Regions from separate parts of the Homo sapiens genome. Here regions 2 and 3 are each linked to region 1. The links are contacts of gene promoters, found by promoter capture Hi-C in blood cells and fetal thymus (Javierre and others, 2016). All regions are on one chromosome and are shown on one strand. The core of a region is centred on a gene start or on the middle of the fragment in contact, and the rest is flanking DNA. Distances in the headings are between cores, read along the strand shown.

Region 1 (5,152 bases), core at 1,183-3,682:
TGGGATGCTGTTTAAAAGTGTTTCAGGTATGTTGCTAGACTGAAAATAGAAAATTTATGCATGAAAAGTACAGAAATTTGATATTAAAAAATATTCACATATCGCCACAGAAAGGCTCAATGTGGAAAATAAAAATAAATAGCTTCAGTAAAATAATCCCTGAATCCATGCAAAAGTGTCTCTCGGAGCTTGTATTTCATCCATCACCGAAGAAATTCTCAGTTCCTATAATTTTCAATAAATAGCTGCCATTACAATATTCTCATTTACATGCGTGTGTGACATGCTGAAAAAGAAATGGCATATCCATTTTTCCTTAATCAAAGGTCCTTTTCCAGTACCACTGTAGTTAAGAGGGACTTACAGAGGCCTCATGTCCCACGGTAGACGCAGGAATTCTAAATAATAAACAAAACCAGCAGAGGGCAGAACTGCTGACAGAATTGACCAATCCAACCGGTGACCAGGTACCAAAAGTAAAATACAAACTTTTTGATGGATTTCACTTTCAAAGACACTCTTATCTATCCTTGAAAATGTGGAAATGAATGAATCAACATAATTAATCAACATAATAACTCCTTTCAAAATTCAAATATAGTCCTAATAGGACTTTCACTGTATTTAGCAGGAAAAGTCACCCAAGGGAATAATCTAGCGCTGCCTGCTACTCGGGAAGCTGAAAGCCACTAAGCGTGTGGAAGGAATAACCTGGTCTCAGAGATCGGCCTCCGGGAGGGCTGACTCTCATTAGGGAGAGCTCAGATCTTGGCATCTAGACCCAGGGCCACACTCAAGTTTCTGCTAAAGCCTACGCATTTGGGCTTGACCATTTTTATCTCCCTTGACCCAACCTCGTCAGTCACCCTCCTTCCTATCCCCCAGCTTCTTTCTGCACTCCTCACAAAGCTTGCTTTCTACTCTAAGCTGTCTGGGCTCCCTGACCTCCAAAGGCTTTCGCCTGCCAGTCGATTCTAAGGCACCTAACGGACCGCTCCAGCCAGATGCCTTTTCGGGAAAGGGCGGGGGAAAGAGGGAGGGAGAAGGCGGAGGGGAGGAGTGAAGTCGCTCTCCCTCCGTGGGTACTGACAGGGTTGCAGACTTCCGAGCAGGTCTGGCCATTGAATATTTGGTGGTGCCACGTAGGAACTGTTCCTTACCTCTCTCCTCCCACCCTACCCACACCCCCTCCCCTTCCCTCCCAATCCCTAGTCCTCCGCCCCCACCCCATTTGCTTGGCGACTTTCATCATTCTCCAAGAGAACTGCACGTCCAACCTGCAAGAAGAAGCGGAGGGGTGGGGTGGGGGGAGTCACTGAAATTCAGGGGAAAGTGTTCTCCCTATCTTGAACCTATTCCTAATAATCTGCCAATTTTTGTCCACTTAAAATAGATTGACCCTCCCCCGCCCCCCAAACACACAGAGTGTTCCTAATCTTCTAGATTCACCCCCCTGGTTTCTCTTATATCCCCAAAACTAAAACAGCCTGCTTCTCACTTGGTTGCAGACAAAGAACTTTATCAAGGTTCATTTTATACCCTTTATATTTTCTCCTCAGCTCACCCTTAAAAAGATATTCCCATTAGTTAGAATCTGAAGAAACCAGATGTGTTCCAAGGGCAGTCTAAAGACTGTGCCTCAAACAAAAGCTTTGTATAACTGCCCTTGTGTTCAAGGTAATATTTTTCCTCTTTTCAAAGAGGCTGGAAAGTGGTGAAGGGCATTTTCAGCAGGCTCTCCTCCTGACAGATCTTTTTTTCCTGCTACCTACCTCGTCTCCCTTTATTGTCCCGCCTACATTCATCTCTTTCTCCAGTTTCCAATTCCAACCTGGTAGCAGCTACAATCTGGATTGTATTTAAGGGAATTGCTTTTTTTTTTTTTTCTTGAAGAGCGGGGAGGAAGGGTAAAGTGGGGGGAGGGGCGCAGAAGCAGTAGGACCGACGGCAATCTCCCACCTCCCCAAATCCATTTTTTCTTACCTCCTCTGACCTCTCTAGCTTGGAAGAGGAAGGTCAATGCGAGGGTTGTTACGGTGAAATCCCAGAGCCACCGTTTCGTTTTCCACCTAGAGGACCACGGCTCCATCTCCGAGCCCCGCACTCACAACTGTGAACTCAACCCACGAAATTGCGACTGCAGACCAACTTCGTCCTTTCCAAGGTATCGCCAGGGATGTTTGCTACACAGCCATTGGGGAGGGAGAGGGGGAAAAAGTCAAAGGGCTTTTTCTTCTAAATTTGATGGTTTGCGTTCTTCGTGTCTCTAGCCCTTTCCTCTCCCTCTGAGTTGGCCCCACCGGCCGGGACCCTCCGGCCGCGACCCTCTGATCCTTCCTCTGCCGGGCCCTGCCTTCAGAATGAAGGCAGATGAGGGGCTTCCACCAACAAGCTGAGAGTACTGTGTGCCCCTAAAGGCTTCATGCCGTCAGTGGGCTGGACGAGTGGCTCCGGGCAGCCCCCTCCTCCGCCCACTCCCCTCCCTGCTCCCAGCTCCCCCTCCCAGGGCGAAACTGACAAGCAGGCTGAGGGTCAGACCCAATCACACGACTCTGGGGCGGCCCCAAGCCCGCCCCCGCCTCCCTCAGCCCAAGAATGAGGACTCCGAGCAGGCCCAGCCCACCAACCACCCCCCATCTCCCCACTCCTCTCCTCCCTCCTCGCCTACCAAATCCCCGAGAAAAAATGGGAGGGAGTTACGGGGGACGCGTGCTTGGCTCCAGCACTTTGGGAATGAAAGGAATTGCAGGAGAGCCCCGGAGCACACGGAGTTTTCAAGGAGCTTCTGTATTCAATAAAAACAGCTACTTGTCTACTTGCACCCGTCTGTTAGCCTCTCGCTGGTCGGCGGGAGAGGGGAGGAGGCCAGCGCCTGATCGGCCACACCGCTGGAGTCCTGGGCTGGCAGCGGTAACCTTATCCTTGTGCAAAAATCTGCTTCGTATGGCAGACGTGGAACCAGTGGACTCATTGCGCTGCCTACTCTGAAAAGTGTTTTTATTTTTATTTTTTTAACCCAATAATTAGAAGAAAGGAATGAAGATAGAATGGAGGGACCCTAGAAGTCAAAACCTAGAGCATGTAGGGAAGTCCTCTTTGGAGATCTGAAACTGACAGGTTTATCTCTTAAACGTTTAAATTCAGCACTAGGTTCATTCAGTGGCTTTCCTCTTAAAAGAGTTGAACTGTACTCTGAGGGAGAAGGAGGAAAAAATTTATGGGAGCTGACATTAAGAGGGTGAGTAATTTAATTTTCCAGCTGATTCTGTTCTGATCCTGGATGAGGGGGTACTGAGGAGTGTGTAGAAAAGGCGAGGAAAGCAACTAGCAGAAATCTCCAAGAGGCTCGGCCCACAGCTCCTCATTAAGGGCCTGGCCCTGGCCCTCAGCCTCGGGAGCCAAAAACGTGGTCACTCCACAGTGAGAGTAATGAAGAGGGCAGGTTTCTAAATTCCCTCTCTACTTAACCCATCCTCAAAGTAATCCTCTTACACCTGGAATATAGATTCCCAAGTCACTTTTTCCACGTTAAAATCATTCCATTCTATTGACTCCTTTTTGTTCGTTAATAATTCCTAAGATGTTTCTCTCAAAGATTTTCTGGAACAGTGCCCATCAGGGTGCCAGCATACATTAGCCACTCAATAGAGATGGGTTGGATGAATGAACACATTTTTCTGTTGACAAAGACTAGAAGCATTGGCCAGGGCCTACTTTGAGTATTTAAGTCATTTAAATGCTTAAAGGCCCTCAACTAAGTTTACTGGGTACATATGTTCAATTCTACAGCTGCCACTAATCTTTAGGAACTCAGTTTTCTATTAGTCATCAAAATATGCCTCATGATCTATCAGATTACATCAAATCTCTTCATGCAGTTTAAAATTGGAAGAAAGGTGATCAAAGACTAGATTGAGCCCTTATAGGGGTATAACAGCATGAACAGAGACATATAAACTGAAGAAAGCAACTAGAAAATACCTTCAATATAAATATCACTCTCCATAACAAAGAACTACTCCTTTATCAAGAAGCTATCTCTTAGATCACAGGTAAAAAAATACTTGACATTTGTAATGCTGTTGGCAGAATGTTTGGGATGCCTCATATCAGCTGCAGAGAAATATCATCAACTAGTTCTTCAGATTACAACCTTAAACTGTTGGTTAAAATAATTTAATATCATATTGCATTTGAACCTGAAATGCACAATTACAAATTAAGACCCTTACAGTAAAAATATATGTATTTACCATCTTCATTATCCCTCATCGTCTCACAGATGGAAAATTTGTATATATTGGCTGTTTCCAAACTTGTGTACAAACTGATTTTTCTGTCGACTCTTCAGATATTTTAAAAATTACTTTTTACATCTTCTCTCAAATGTAAAATAGTGAAATGAATGCAAGTTTAGAAATACGTATTTGTGAAGCTGCCAGAATTCTAAATCAATTCAATAGCCAGAGAGAGTTACGGTGCTTGTAGCAACATGTACAAATGGTGTTCCAAATTGTCTCTTAATAGCTCTCAAATTTATTGAGAGTTCTGGGGCCTGATACTGTTCTAGAAGGTGAGAAATGATGCAGTCAATCTAGCAGTCCCTACTTTCTGGTCACAACTCAGACCTTCTCACTGCTGTGAAAGGGTCCTTTCAGGCAAAGCATCTTGGGTGAATAGAGTTATTACCACCTTATGCTCTCTGTACGTTGTGGTCTGAATTCCTCTGGCCACTGCCCAGCTAGGCATAATCTGGGTCTCAATGAATGCCTCTAGAAGGAAACATAGCAAATTCATGGTGAGGAATAATTATATCTAAGCCCTGTAGTCTGTTGCTAGATGCCAGATCTAGAGCCTCCCTAGGAACCAGCCCATGGATTTACAGGAGATTAACTCAGTGAAAGAAAGGATAATACTAAACAACAATGGGAGCAGGGGAAAGCCAGAAGAGAGGCACCTTAGCTAACTTCAACTTCACACAGGGGAACTTCCAATGGCATCATTTCCTGGGCCATCTTTCAACCAGTCCTTGCTAATTGTTTACGTGTAGATTCAAAATATAATAAAACAGGCAGTTTTCCTGACATAAGTCTTTAGTTTGAAGCACAATCGGTGATATTTTCCTATTTTGTCACATTTACAAATAATGATG
Region 2 (5,152 bases), core at 1,672-4,171, 390 kb after region 1:
CGGATCACCTGAGGTCAGGAATTTGAGACCAGCCTGGCCAACAAGGAGAAACCTCATCTCTACTAAAAATATAAAAAAAATTAGCCGGGCATGGTGGTGGGCACCTGTAATCCCAGGTACTCAGGAGGCTGAGGCAGAAGAATCGCTTGAACCCAGGAGGCAGATGTTGCAGTGAGCCGAGATCGCACCATTGCACTCCAGCCTGGGCAACAAGAGCAAAACTTCGTCTTAAAAAAAAAAAAAAAATTCTAAAACTGAAAAAAACCCTGGAAGGTAATCTAGGAAATACCATTCTGGACACAGGCCCTAGCAAGGATTTCATGATAAAGATGCCAAAAGCAATTTCAACAAAAACAAAAATTGACAAATGGGACTGAATTAATCTAGAGAGCTTCTGCACAGTAAAATAAACTATCAACAGAGTAAACAGTCTACTCTGTGAGAATGAGAGGAAATATTTGCAAACTATGCATGTGACAAAGGTTTAATATCCAGAATCTTTAAGAAACTTAAACAAATTAACAGGCAAAAAGCAAACAACCTCATTAAAAAGTGAGCAATGACATGAACAGACACTTTTCAAAAAAAGACATATGCCTGGCCAACAAGCATATGAAAAAATGCTTAACATCATGAATCATTAGAAAAATGGAAATCAAAACCACAAGGAAGTATCATTTTACACCAGTAAGAATGACTATTACTAAAAAGTCAAAAAATAACAGATGCTGCCAAGGTTGTGGAGAAAAGGGAACTCTTTTTTTTTTTTTTTATAGCTTAAATTTCTGAAAACTTTATTTTCAAAAATAAGCAAGCGTGAGAATGGAACAAAGAACACTATGTTGTTCCATTAAATCTGCAGGACACAAATTCATCTACTGTTGACATTTTATGGCATTTACTCTTATACACTGCTGTTAGGAATGTAAATTAATTCAGCCATTCTGGAAAGCCTGTGGTGATTTCTCGAAGAACTCAAAACAGAATTACCATTCAACCCAGCAATCCCATTACTGAGTACATACCCAAAGGGATATAATCAACTTGTCATAAAGACACATGCATGCATATGTCCATCACAGCACTATTCATAATAGCAAAGACACGGAATTAACCTAAATGTCCATCAGTGCTAGACCGGATAAAGAAAATGTGGTACATATACTCCATGGAATATTATGCAGACATAAAAAGGAATGAGATCGTTTCCTTTGCAGCAACATGGATGAACTTGGAGGCCATTATCCTAAGTTAACTAATCCAAGAACAGAAAATGAGATATCATATGTTCCCATTTATAGGTGGGAGCTAAACATTGAGCACAAAGAAGGGAAGAACAGACATTGGGGCCTACTTGAGAGTGGAGGGTAGGAGGAGAGGATCAAAAAACTACCTTTGAGGTACTATTCTTATTACCTGTGTGATAAAACAATCCATATACCAAACCCCTGTGACACACAATTTACCTATATAACAAACCTGCACATGTACCCATGAACCTAAAATAAACGTTAAAAATAACTATGATAAAAAGCAAATGAAAATATGAGTAACTTTTGACTTACAATTATACTTTTGGCAAATTATCCTCAGGAAAACCACAGCATTTTTTAAAATAGCCAAATAAAATTTCAAAAACAAACTAAAAATCCAATAATAGAGCTCCTGGTTAAATACCTAACAGGAGAGCCATTCTGTGAAACTACCACATATTTATGATGGAATTTAGAATATGCTACCTCATATAGCACCTTGGTATTTGAGGGAACAGCAGAAGCAAGAGAGGCACTTGCACCCCTTCCCCCAATCTGCTCCTCTGCAACAGACTGCAAAACCTACCTGATCTTCCTCCAAAGTGAGTAATAAGGCCCTCATTCCAAAAGGATCCTCCCTGTACTTGGAGGAAAGAAATGTTCTTAATGTCTGAAGGCACAGAGATGCCAAGAAGAATCTGAACAAACATGTCTTGCTGTTTCCCCCAGTTTTTTACTAGATTATACCCTTTTGTCCTCCAATCATAGTTCCCCATGACTGACCATAAAATACACAGATTTTTCTTGTTTATTTGGGTCTTCATTCCAAAAGGCATGAATGTGATTTTAATGTCATGTAAAACTTACATTAAATAAATGTATATGCTTTTCTCTTGTTAATATGCCTAAAGGTCTCAACCATGTACCTGGCAATGGGTGAGGAAAAAAGATATTACTTTTCCAAATATGTGTGTGTATGTGTGTGTATTCTGTGTGTGTGAATGTGTACCAGAAACAAATTGAAAATATATACAGTAAAATGGTAATGGTAATCATCTGAATAGTAGGATGATTGTTGATTTTTACATTCTTCTTTATGTAAGTATTTTTCAAATTTTTCTGTTACAAATATATATAAGCCACGAAGACATCTTCCTCCAAAAAGAGTGCTCAGAAATAACAAATAATATGGGGAATAAATAAAAAGAAAAAAGAAGTGTTCACTTTATTCACAACTTTAAAAAAACCATTTCATTTTGAATTTGAGAGAATTACAGAGTTGACTAATGAGAGTACCCGTTTCACAGGGAATGTCATAAAGACTTAAAAAAAATGGGCAGAAAGCTTGATAGTGCCTGATACATAGTAACACAGTAGGCACCCAATCAATGAGCACCAGTTGAACATTTTAGGCGAGGATGACAATATCCACATTCTAGTGGGCAGGCTTTGGATTCCAGTTGCCTTCAGCATATCCTTCAGCCTCTCTCAGTCTCAGTTTTCACATCTATAAATTAGGAATAGGAAATATCTACATGTATTTTGTCAGACACTTAAGAATTAAATTTTATAATGTATACAAAGACCAATCCCTAAGGCTTGGCTTAGAAATATTTCTGGATGACTAAATAAATTCTTGGAGAGAGCAAACCTGTACAGCCCTGACAAAAAGGGTGGTTGGGAGGTGAAGACATGAGTGTAGCTGGGGTACACAGAACTAAGGGAGATATTTTCAATACAGGAGAAATTGAATACATGCATTTATTTTTTGAAGAGAAGGAGACAGCAAAGAGCGAGAAAATGAAGCCAAGAAAAAATAATGGTAATCTGTGAAACAATATCCTTGATGAAATGGGAGTGGATGGAATTTAAAGCATAAGAAAGGTATTTACCTAAGTCATCTTTCCCTGTGAGACAGGTGGTAAGGATGGGTATCAATATGGAAGACCCAAATATTTGGGAAAAGATTTTCATGGAGTATCTCATCTTGAGTAAGCTTCCACCTAAAACTCGAAGAATATTCATTTTTGACCCACACATTTATAAGTATCTGCTATCATTATTGTTGTCATTTCCTGTTATCCATGGTATATTAGAAAAGCATCCACACCCTTTTAGAAAGCATCTTTCTAAAAGGAAACTTAGAAAGATACTTCATTAAGTAAAAAAAAAAAAAAAAAAAAAAAGGAAAGAAAGAAAGAAGGTCTTTACTTGAGTAGTGCCTTATCCAAACACCTTACCCCAAAGTTATTTATATGTTCCAGCTACCTTCACAAAATTAAGCCTCAGTAATTTGAACTCCCACTTCATATAAATACTGGTTAACACAAGGTATGTGCTTGTTCCCTGAATACTTTGAGTTAACATTTTGAACACGAATTTTTTTAACTTCCTTAAAAGAAACATTTTAAAGGTGTTTTGGCAGGTGCTTTGGCTAGCCTCACTGAATCTATTCATTAATACAAGACAGCATTTTCCACTGGTTGCAGACAAAACTGAAGGTAAAACTTACTGGGTAAACATTCCTGTTTACTTGTTATGGTAAACTGTTTTATTTATGGTTCAACTAGTTCACTATACACAATAGCTTTGTGTGATAAATTAATAAATAACACATAAGAGCCAGGATAGATGGAAGGTACTAAGTTAATGACAATATAACACTGTGAATTCTTAAAGTGAATTATAATCTAAGTATCTAGTAGCAATTATCATTTTCATCACAATCATCACTTTACTTTTATGTAGAATATAAGTTTCTTCTAGAAAATGCATATGAACATATTTCATATTTAGTAACTTTGGTATGCCCCCTATATATCAAGGTTCTCCAGAGAAGGAGAACCAATAAGATATGTATATGTTTGTGTGTGTGTGAGAGTGTGTGCGTGGTGTGTGTGTGTTGTAGATCAACATTCTGTTCAGGCCTTCAACTGATTGAATAAGGCCCATGTACATTACAAAGGGCAATCTGCTTTACTCAAAATCCACAGATTTAAACGTTGCTATTATGCAGAAACACTCTCACAAAAGCATCTGGAATAAGGTTTGATCATATATTTAGGCTATGTGGCCCAGCCTCTACAACCCTCCTTAAATGTAACCAATTTTAGTGCAACTTCAAAATTTGAAGTAGAATTATATCCACATATGAGAAAGAGCTGAGTGAAATAAGTCACTACCAGAAAAAAACAAGCAAAAACAATTGTCAAGTACCCATCCCTGTTTCAATCACTTCTGCTATGCCGAACAGATAAATCATGTGCAAGCCATGCTGCCCTGTCTGCCATTGATCTCAGCTTCAATCTCCAATGCCCACTCCTACTAGGAAAAGACACACAATATTAGTTCACCATCAGCCCTCAAAAATGCAGCAGATAGTATTCTATCATACATTTCTTCCGTCTTCTCCCCTCCCCTATTCTCTCCTTTCCTCTCCTCCTCTCCCTTCTTCTCATTTGTGGTCTCCAAACTCAGTTAGCCTATGCCTGAGAGTGAAAAACCTTTGAATTGCTTGCCACCACTGGCTTTGGTGACAAATATTTGACATATAATGCCTTACACAGTTGGGAGTAGGGTAAAGACAACTAGCCTAGTCTGGCAAGGCAATAATAGTACCAAATTCATGACAATTCCTAGAGAGGAGAATTCAGACAGTAAAATTTATATTTTTTACTCAATGAACAAGTGCATTAACACACGTTAATTTTATAATTTCTAAAAATATTTAATTAAAAAATTAGGCCACCTAATTAGAGTAATTCAAATGAACAGGATATATACCTTGCATTTTTATTACATACATTTTATATACAGTATTAGCAATGGCTTAAACAAGGCAGACATTTATTCTCACGAGTTAAAGGCCCAAGGTAATATGGTAGCTGTGCTATACAAAG
Region 3 (5,152 bases), core at 776-3,275, 260 kb after region 1:
TCACCTGCCTCAATGCAGGACTCCAATTTTACCCAACCTCCCTGACTGTGGGTTTTAAGACCCTTTCCACAGAGGGTCCCTCCCTATGTCTTGGGGTAAAGAATGCTAACATCATGCAGCTTCCACCGAAACCCAAGAGGCTGGGTTCCTGGGCTTCCAGATAGCAGAAAATGAGGAGGTTCCTGGAGGGTGGCACACCCAGGGAGGGCATGGAATTCCAGAACCCCAATTTGCAGCCAGTTGATCAGAAGTTCTGGAAGCCCAGACTAATTTCTGGGGTTTGGGGAACAGTCCTAGGGGCTGACCTCTCAGGCTGCGGGATCTAACACTATCTCCAGATAGTGTTGCAATTGAATTGGAGGACAGCCAGCTGGTGTCTGCTACTTGGTGTGTGGAGGAAAATTCCCAGACATTTGCTCACATAAGTCTTCTATGTTGATGATTGCTGTGGTGGTGTAAGAGCAGAAGAGAAACACAGTTTTAGAATTTTTCTCTAAATAATTGATGACATTACTTTTGAACGTGTGATTAAGGTCATGTTCATCAACTATCTCATTGCAAAGGACCCTCTTCTCTTCATAATTGACAAGAAATCTGTGGAGTAACACTTTGACCCTGCATGAATATCTTATTCTCAAAATCTGTAATCCAATAATTTCAGTGTTTATTGGTAACCTTTGACTGAATCAATTATTACAATGATACTTGCAAATGGTAATTTTCTATCTCTATCATTCTTTCTACATTTATTAGTTGGCATTCTTCTATTAAGAAAAGTTAGCCATGCATGCTGGTTCATGCCTATAATTCCAGCATTTTGGGAGGCTGAGGCAGGAAATGGCTTGAACTCATAAGCTTGAGACCAGCCTGGGCAACAAAGAGAGAACCTGTCTCCACAAAAAAAGTTGAAAAATAATCTGTGTGTGGTGATGTGCATCTGTGGTCCAGGCTACCTAGGAAGCTGAGGTGGGAGGATCTCTTGAGCTTGGGAGACTGTGAGTGCAGTGAGCTATGATCATGCCATTGCACTCCAGCCTGGGCAATGGAGAAAGACTTTACCTCAAAAAAAAGAAAAGAGTAAAGAAAAAGAAAAAAACAAAAGCTTTTCTTCCCTCCTTCCTCCCTCTTATTTAAGCAACATAATGGATCCAGTAACAATTTTTCATTACATTTTAATCCATTGATGTAATTATAATTTTGATGTTCAAAATATTTCATATTTGGTTAGAGGAAGTCCCTTCAAGTAGACTCATCTATTTTTTTATGCATTTCCATCAGTTTTTGAGAACTTCCTGCTTTTAAGTTTTATTTTGCAATCTGGTCCTAATTGAAAGATTTACAAAACTTCATATCACCACTTTTTTTGTCTATTGGAAATTTATTAAATTATTGAGACACAAATTAGAATAATTGCTAAGCTTAGAATAACTTGGGTTCGAGGCTGAATCTATGATACACTAACTGCACATTTATGGATAAGTAACCTATCCACTTTAACTATCAGACTCTAAAGTACGGATTAATATCATGCCTACCTCATTGAATTGTTTGGAAGATTAAGTAAGATAATACATGAACAGCATTAGCAGTGCCCAGTATTAAATACTTAATATGTTAGCTATTCTAGAATTACATAATATTGTAAGCTATTGGGCAGTCAGTGGAATATTACAACTTTAGAAATACTTACCCTTTAATCTCCTTTATGAACTGAAGCCACCTATTTCTTATACCAGACTTTTCAATCAGTCTGTCCCCCCCCAAAAAATTTTATTATTCACTTAAAAAAGATTGGATCACTAGAGCCTCACAGGTGACCTTTCAAATTTTGACTATGCAGTTTTCCATTTTATATTTCACATTATTTTACTAAAATTTGTATTTAATTGACAAGCAGCATTATCTATTTTTACCATCTGATGAAGCCTTGTTTCCACAGGAAAACTGGGTCAGTCAAAGCAACAGTAGACTGGCTCATTGTCACAGTGGTTTGATTTCCTAAGAGCTAAATCTTGTGGGAATTTTGGAATGTCTCTTAGGAATGAACAAATATTTTGTTTCAAAATCAATATATATCACAGTCAGCTTTGTACAAACAGAAGGCATTGTATTTTGAGGATTCACATAGTGTCTGGCCCAATACTTAAAGCCATCTCCAATCAATTAAATGGATTTTTTTTTTTTTGAGACAGAGTCTCACTCTGTTACCTAAGCTGGAGTATAATGGGGCAATCTTGGCTTACTGCAATCTCTGCCTCCCAGGTTCAAGCAATTTACCTGCCTCAGCCTCCCAAGTAGCTGGGATTACAGGCGTGTGCCATCACAGCCAGCTAATTTTTATGTTTTTAGTAGACATGGCGTTTTGCCATGTTGGCCAGGATGGTCTTGAACTCATGACCACAGGTGATCAACCTGTCTTGACCTCCCAAAGTGCTGGGATTACAGACGTGAGCCTGGCTGAAATAAATTTTTTTGTAAATGTCCACTGAAGGTTCTATCTTTCTTAATTCCTGATCACCCAATACCCACTTTAATTAAAGGCTTCAGAAAGAAAAATAGGGCTATCGAAAAACTCTTATCAGGATAAGAATAATGGAATATTCAAGAAAAAGTGTCAAAGATTATCTTCAAATGAAGCTTATTTAGTTCTTAAACTATTCCAGGATAGCTTTTGAGCCTTGGGAAATAAGATAAAAATCTTTATTTCCAGTCTTTTCTGTAATGTCATATGTCTCATTTTAAATTATATTTAATGGATGATTATGGTCAAACTATTATGTGCATGGTTAGATATACTACTACTCCAAACACATATCAATAGCAATAAAGCATGGATCTGAAGTAAAAGCACAAAATGGTAACCTGGAAGAAAATTACAGGCCTAATGGCCTTCAAGGCTGGAAGCAGGCAGTGTTGCCCAATAGTTTGATAACTATGTGGTAATTAATATTTAAATTATCCATAAGAAATGGAAGGCAAGAGTCAAAATCACTGCTTGAGGCAAGAGTTACTATGAGAATTCTCAGTCATACAAGAAGACGTTAAAAAGCTACTGAAACATTGCCTTGGGCTAGATTTTCAAGGGAATATTTGTACCTAGGGTAGTGAGCAAAAAAAGACGCACACTCATGACTCAGGAACTGAATCAACTACTCACTATTTATATAACCATTTCTTGGGGCTCCGCTATCTTACAGTAAGACAGGAGACTCAAACCAATGTTACACCAGCTGATACTTCAGTAAGGTCACAAAGACAAGTATAGGAAAACACAAAACCCCCAAATCTTCTATATGGAGAGAAATAGAGGAAAGTTAACAGAAAACAAATGTGAAACTAAAAATCTTTCATTTCCCATGGATTACCAAACCAAAATATAAAATTTTCATTAGATATAAAAATTAAATGCCAAGAAAGGTAACCAAGAAAGTTAGCAAAGTGTCAACCCATTCCAGATGAAAAGAATGTGGGTAACACTCCAAAGGAGACTTCTCAAAAGCATGCCTAGGTTGGTCAGAGAAGTAAAGAAATAACATTTATTAAAAACAATTTAAAAAGCAGTACATATAAAATAAAATAGAGAATATAAAAAAGAACCAACAAAAATATTGAAAATGAAATCTATTTTCTGAAAAAAAGCTCAATAGTTAGAATAAAGTTTATGTAATCAAGATAAAATTTAATTTAAAAATTAGTCTAAAAATATTTACCAACATTTTCAACATAGAGAAATAAAGAGCAACTATGGGAATTGTAAGATTGATTAAGAAAAATTAAATTATTTAATATTAATTCAATGAAAATCTGATGGAGAAACAATTGTATTTTAAAGAAATAGTGACAGAATACTTTCCACAACCACAAAATACCCAAGTCCTCAGATTGTAGTAAAAGCTAATCACTAAAAACATTAAATTATGCTGAATATAAACTAATGAAAGTTTCATAAAACTGCAATCAAAGTGAAAGGGAAGATACAAGTTTATCACAGAGAAAATGTATTTCCCACAAATAACTATTATGCTGAACACAAAATATCCAGAAAAAAACATAAGCCACTAAGTATTTTATTTTATTTATTTTGCATTTTAATTTTAGAGACAGGGTCTCTGCTCTGTTGCCCTGACTGGAGTGCAGTGGCATAATCGTAGATTCCTGCAGCCCTAAACTCCTGATCAAGGGATCCTCCCAACTTAGCCTCTGGAGTTTCCAGGGCTACAGATGTGGTCTACCATGCCTGTCTAATTTATTTTCTATTTTTTGGTCTCAAAAAATAGAAAATATTGAGTCTGGTCTCAAACTCCTGAGCTCAATCAATCCTCCTACCTCAGCCTCCCAAAGTGCTGGGATTACAGGCATGAGCTACCACACCTGGCCCTTCTAAGCATTTTGTATCCAGCTAAAAACAACCATGAAATGTGTGGGCAAAATGAAGATTCTCAATAAACAAACAAATGAAAACTACAGTTTTCTAAAACCTTTAGATACTCACTAAAAGAAGAAATGAATATTTGCCAAATGCAATAAACTACGCGCATTTTAAAATAATTTTATATTTTTATTGTAATAAAATATACATAAAATAAAATTCTTCATTTTGACCATTTTTAGGTGTAATGTTCTGTGGCATTAAGTATGTTCACATTGTAGGACAACTATCACTGCCATCCATCTCCAGAACACATTTCATCTTAGAAAACTGAAATTCTGTACCTATTAACAGTAACTCCCCACTCCTCTTCTCCCAGCCCCTGGAAACCATCATTCTACTTTCTCTATAAATTTGATTACTATAGGTACTTCATATAAATTGAATCACACAGCATTTTTCTTTTGTGAGTGGCATTATACATTGTTAGATGTGATTACATTAGAATTGAAATAATCTGTTTAGTGAAAGACACTGGAAACAAAGTTTAACTCAGATATCAATACTTATAAATAAGGAAACCATGCAATTCCATTTGCCCAGTGTAGTTCTAGTTTTCTTCTCTTATCTGGACATAATTATTAAGGATGCACTCTTTCATTCTTAAAAATGTTTTAGTTTAAATAAGTGATTATGGTCACCTTAAATAAAACTTTCTGAAGTTTAATGTACAAATTTTATAAAGAATATTTTAAAGTCTACAAAAAAGGACTAACTATGTTA

The links. The method cuts DNA at HindIII sites, captures the fragments that hold promoters and counts their contacts. A CHiCAGO score of 5 or more calls a contact.
Region 2: a fragment that was not itself captured here is called in contact with the fragment with the promoter of COL11A1 in region 1 in 6 of 17 cell types (M2 macrophages, endothelial precursors, M0 macrophages and 3 more); the score reaches 9.8 in M2 macrophages.
Region 3: a fragment that was not itself captured here is called in contact with the fragment with the promoter of COL11A1 in region 1 in 1 of 17 cell types (megakaryocytes); the score reaches 5.3 in megakaryocytes.

Annotation. Positions count from the first base shown.
Region 1 is chr1:103,106,090-103,111,241 of GRCh38, forward strand. COL11A1 (collagen type XI alpha 1 chain) reads right to left here and starts at 2,433. Exons shown (of 67, transcript NM_001854.4): 1 at 1,984-2,433. The coding sequence starts at 2,089. The HindIII fragment of the contact is 5,912 bases long and covers 1,649-5,152 here.
Region 2 is chr1:103,495,794-103,500,945 of GRCh38, forward strand. All of the region lies in intron 1 of RNPC3-DT (RNPC3 divergent transcript), which reads right to left. Among named protein-coding and RNA genes, the nearest start is that of RNPC3-DT, 27 kb to the right of the region's middle. The HindIII fragment of the contact is 652 bases long and covers 2,596-3,247 here.
Region 3 is chr1:103,371,073-103,376,224 of GRCh38, forward strand. No RefSeq gene overlaps it. Among named protein-coding and RNA genes, the nearest start is that of RNPC3-DT, 150 kb to the right of the region's middle. The HindIII fragment of the contact is 1,219 bases long and covers 1,417-2,635 here.